2 separate regions of the Homo sapiens genome follow, and region 1 is linked to region 2. The links are contacts of gene promoters, found by promoter capture Hi-C in blood cells and fetal thymus (Javierre and others, 2016). All regions are on one chromosome and are shown on one strand. Each heading gives the region's core, a stretch centred on a gene start or on the middle of the fragment in contact. The rest is flanking DNA. Distances are from core to core; before and after follow the strand shown.

What was found. The method cuts DNA at HindIII sites, captures the fragments that hold promoters and counts their contacts. A CHiCAGO score of 5 or more calls a contact.
Region 1: a contact is called between a fragment that was not itself captured here and the fragment with the promoter of LMO2 in region 2, in 2 of 17 cell types (activated CD4 T cells and naive CD8 T cells). The highest score is 6.1, in activated CD4 T cells.

What each region holds. Positions count from the first base shown.
Region 1 is chr11:34,381,240-34,383,939 of GRCh38, forward strand. No RefSeq gene overlaps it. Among named protein-coding and RNA genes, the nearest start is that of ABTB2, 25 kb to the left of the region's middle. The HindIII fragment of the contact is 170 bases long and covers 1,353-1,522 here.
Region 2 is chr11:33,890,778-33,893,477 of GRCh38, forward strand. LMO2 (LIM domain only 2) reads right to left here and starts at 1,299. Exons shown (of 6, transcript NM_005574.4): 1 at 1,018-1,299. RefSeq lists an enhancer at 755-864. The HindIII fragment of the contact is 4,099 bases long and covers 880-2,700 here.

The DNA of each region.
Region 1 (2,700 bases), core at 188-2,687, 490 kb after region 2:
CTTAAAAATACGCATGATTTTTGACCTAGCAATTTTATTTCTGAGAATTTATCCTATGGAAATATTATGGACATGCACTAGAAATTAGCTCTAAAGATGTTCATCACAGTGCTATCTGTAATAACAAAAACAAACAAACAAACAAAAAACAACCAAACAAAAACAGAAATAATGCCAATATTCAACAGCAGAAAATTGGCAAGGTAAAGTATGAAATACTCATTTAACAGAATACTTTGTGATAACTAAAAAGACACTGTAGAAATATATTTCTAGATGTGGAAGATGTCCATAATATATTGTCAAATTTTAAAAAGATGTGTTACAGAACACTATTGCAAAAATAAAAATACATAGATGGGTGAAATATGATATGTTAGTAGTGGTTTTCCCTTGAGGAAAGGGATTGTGGATTTTTTTTTCTTGAAAAAGTTTATTTTGCTTCCCTGTCCTTTCTGAGTTCTTTGTAGTGAAACTATGTTGTTCTTATATAAGAAAAAGAAGAAAAGGAAGACTTTACCAAAAACATATAAATATGAAAGCATAATACTAATGGGATCACAGGAGAAAGGCCTTATTTTTTGCAGCCAGCTCTTATATAGTACCTACTATGCACCATGCATATTTATTTACATTTATTAACTTGTTTTTCTCATCACAACCCTATGATCTTTTCCACTGATGAGGCAACCAAAGCACAGTGATGGTCAGTAACTTGATAAGGTCATAGAGCTAGTAGAGCCAGGATTTGGAGCCCAAGAATCTAGCTAGTTCTAGACTCTGTGCTCTTAACAACCACTGTACTATGAGGAAAGAAATCTAGGTATGTGCCTTCTGTCATCACATCTCCATGATGTCCATTTTTCATGCCTGCTTGATTCCGGATAGGCTGAAAAGGAGTAGTGGGCCAGTTTTGATGGCACATATTAGATGCAATCTGCTATGCCCTTCAGGAGCTGGCTTTGAGGCTGATCCTAGACATAATGCAGTGGGTGAAATGTATTTTAGTGTTTCCTGCCCTGCCTACTTGCTAAATGTAATGCCTTCACCTGCTTATTGAAACTAATAAGGTTCACTGATGGTGTCTGGAATTTTCCTGGCATATTTTTACTATGTTGAAGCCTAGTTATCTTATTCTCTTAACACTTGGCTTTGTACTAGGCAAATACTAGCAAATCTTCAGAAATAAATTAATGCTAAAATGATAATGGGCACCAGTGTGTTGCTACATCATCCTTCCAGGAAACATGTATATGTAAATAGATGCCTTCTAAAAGTTATTTTTAATGCCAAAGAATTCATTTTCATGGTAGATATTTTGGACGTTGCAGGGAGAATATTTTAGGCATTAAAGCTTAGCTGGCTTCACTAATAGCTGTTTCCAGTTTTCTTATCTCTTGCCAACTTCCCTATAAAGGCTGAGAAAACTAAATATTCACTTTCCCAGCCTCCTTGCAGCTAGGGGTGGCACAGTTCTAGACCATGAGATGTGGGCAGTGGTCTGTTGGTGGTTTGTGGAGAAAGCTTTTGCTTTTCTGATAAAAGCAAAATGTTGACACTTGTACCTTGCAATGCCTCCTCCTACCTGCCTCTGGTGCCTTAATCTTTATACTTGGTGATGTCTTGGTCATTTGTGATTGGGAGGAAGAGAACAGAAGAACTGCAGAGATGCTGGACCTGAAATTATGGGGTCACTGAATCAACGCCAGCAGTTGCCTATATCACTTTTTTAATAGGTAGAAAAATAATCCCTATGTGTTAAACCACAGTTAGCCAGATTGTCTTTCACTTTCAGCCAAAGCATTCCTAATTGATGTGCACATTTTCATTTTGCATTTTGCATTTCAAAATGAACTATGTGCGCATAGTTCATTTTCCTGGCTCTAGTTTTACCCAGAACATTGAAGTACGGTTCCAACACTACAGGAAGGCAAACAAAATCAAAGACCCACCCAATTGTGGGTACCTGTTCATAGCATTTCTGAGCATGTTATACGTCCTTTACTTAATTTCTGGTGACTTTAAAAAGAAAGACAATAAGACTAAAAAATGGAGACCATTGTCTAAGATTCATCATAGGTTAAGAAATGCAATATATAGCATTAAAAATGCTATATTAGTCTGGGTGCGGTGGCTCACGCCTGTAATCCCAACACTTTGGGAGGCCGAGGCGGTGGATCACGAGGTCAGGAGATCGAGACCATCCTGGTTAACATGGTGAAACCCTGTTTCTACTAAAAATACAAAAAATTAGCCGGGCGTGGTGGCGGGCGCCTGTAGTCCCAGCTACTCGGGAGGCTGAGGCAGGAGAATGGCGTGAACCCAGGAGGCAGAGGTTGCAGTGAGCCGAGATAGCGCCACCGCAGTCCGGCCTGGGTGAAAGAGCGAGACTCCGTCTAAAAAAAAAAAAAAATTGCTGTATTATTTTACTGACTTGACAAAAACATTTGATGACAACCATTTATTCAGACTTTTGGTTACTATTTTTCAGTTGATAAATCCATCAGATTCTTACTAGTACATAATGCAGGAGCTAGTTGGTCGGGTTTATTTTCTTTCCTTTCTATTCACTTTCTTTTTAATTTTTCCTCTTTTAGTTCCTTCCTTCCCTCCCTTCTTCCTCCCTCCTTGCTTGCTTCCTTCCTTCCCTTCTCTCCTTCCTTTTCCTTCTTTCCTTTCTACCTTCTCTTCTCCCTTTTC
Region 2 (2,700 bases), core at 49-2,548:
CATGATTTATTTCTATTATTTCTCACAATGACCCTATGGGTACCCCTATATTACAAATGAGAAAACTGAGGCTGCCATCTTTCTAAGGTCTAAAGTGATTTTCTGGGAGCACAAACAAGAGCTTAATTAATTTTAACAGATAAAGACAGAAAAGGCTTCACAGAAGATTCACCTTTTCAGGGCAACCTAAAGAAGTATGGGTTGGTTTTCTTTAAGCTGAAACATTACGGCAAGAACCTGGAGTAATATCTGCTTCAAAGGGGAGTTATGCAAAGTCAACAAGAGAAGACGTGTAAAACCCAAGCACAGTACCTGGCACAAAGTAGATGCTCCCAAATCTTTGTTCCCCTTCATTGATCCTCTGTGATGGAAGGAACTTGTAGCCACTTTCCTCATCCGCCTTGGTTTTTCAAAAACACCCTTTGAAGTTATAACCTCCTTGGGAGCCAAGGCTTCTCTGAAGCACCCCATTACAATCTTTGCCCTCAACTCAGAACTGGAATGTGTTTGAAAATGCTAACAAGGGCAGCAGCCCCACCTCTTCGTCATTGCCTAAGGTTGTTAGGCAAACACACACACACACACACACACACACACACACACACACACACATGCACACACACTCACACAGTTGCTGGGGAGATCATGGTAAACACAAGCCTCTCTTTTGGATCAGAATAATTGAGTGGTCTCCCTTTGTGGCCAGTGTACAGGAACAAATTAGATGGGTAAATTAGCAGTTCCCGAAGACATTAGCAACCAGCGGCTCACACAGCAAGCGCCTGACTCACCGTGGGGCCTCTCCAAGTCACAGCCTATGAATAGATGCTCTTCCTCCCTCCGAAAGAGAAGCCAGAGTGCCCGGAACACCACAGGGGAAGCTTGAAGACTTGTACCCCTTTGGAGTCTTTTTATTTTAAAAGACCAATTTAATCACCACTTCTTCTGGCTCCTTGAAGATGAAAAAAGTTCCCTTGCAATCGTCCATTCATCAGAGAATTAATGAAGCCTACTCACCAGCAGATGATGTAATCCTGGTGGCTTCCCCCATCAGATCTAGGCTGCCTGCCCCACGGATACCTTCTGGGCTAATTGCCTGCTTTGCACCTGTTCCTTCTCGGGAGGCCCTGGCACCCTAGCACCTGGTGCCTGTGCCATCTCCCCTCTCTGCCAGGACACCCAGAGGCCCTTGTGAATAGCAAAGCCCACTTAACGGCTGAGGGCAGGTGGGGGTATTTCCTTCTCAATTCTGCTCAAGGCCCGTTGCTGTTCTTTGAGGATGTTGCAAATCCAGGGTTTGGAGGGCTGGGCCTCTTGGTGGCCTGGTTGTCTATCTGATAGGGCGGAGCCTTCACCCTTGCAGCGAGCTCTCTCACACCAGATGTGCTCTGCGTGGAATCCTAGGCCATCAGGGGATTCCTTAGCAAGCCCTGCAGGACCCAAATCCTAACTCAGACCCTCATCCTCCTACTCAGAATGTGGAGACTTGTGATCCTCAGTTTGGACGAATTCCAAGAGACCTTCCAATTCCCAGAGGCCATCTTTGGTTCTGTTCACACATAGCTCCCTCTCCCTCCTAGGCCTTCTCCCTTTGAATTTCTCCCCTACACCATCAGCCTGTATTTACTTCTCCTTCTTGCTTAATGCATGACTATATTATCCCAGTTAAGGGGGTCTGCAGGTTTTATCAGAAAGTTCAGAGGCTCACATGACCTGGATTGGAACTTGGCTCAGCCACTGACTAGCCAGACAAACTCAAATAACGTACACAGCTTCTCAGCACCTCACCCCCTCATTCATAAAAAACAGGGACAATGGTACCCACTTTGCAGGGTTGTTGAGTGGATTAAATTAAACAACACAAGGAAAGAGCTTTCCTAAGTTCCAATGCTATGTAACACACACAGTATTGTCTTACCCAGCAATAATTTCGGTGCACGGATCTGATCATCTCTTAATTAAATATTGAATTCTCCTAACACGGTTCTTTTTTTGAACCCCTCAGGGTCTGAACAGTTATAAGTGCACAGAAGTTGGGTCTTTATGAGCTGAATAAAAGGAGACTCCGGCTGTCTTCTCTTTTGTCCTTACCATAAAGCTCTTGTCAGCTGCTCTCCTGGCCCTGCCTCTGACCCTGGGCTTTGGGGCCACTATAGGCTCTCCTTTCCTTGTCCCCCTCTGAGTCCTGAAGTCCTGGTTTGCAATCTGCTGTTGCAGTTCTCTGGAATGGCTGCTTCCCCATGCGCCCCTGTCTGTCAGCTACCTCCCCCGCATGCATGTCTGTCTGCTGGGCAAGGCCCAATTCCGAGGTGACAGCTCACCGGGCCTCACCCACAAGTCTCTTCCAAGCATTAGCAGCCCACCCCAGTCCAAAGATATCTTTTATAGCTGATCTCTGGTGGCACCTCCTACCTTCCAATTAGGAGCCTGTCAACACCCAGGCCATCACTCTTCCTGCAGTGTCTGACAACACACACGCCTGCCGCGGCTGCGCCGGGAGAGTCAAGCAAAATTGTTTCCATGGTGGTGGTGGTGGCCTGAGCACAAGAGTTGAAATCTAGGTGAATCTGAATCTAGTTCTGCCTTCTCACTTTGCAAGGAGGTGTCTTATTTCTCTTTGAATTGGCAGCACCAAGCATCATGCCTGGCACACAGTAGGTACTCATAAATAAACACGTGTAAATCAAAAAGGCCGAAGAT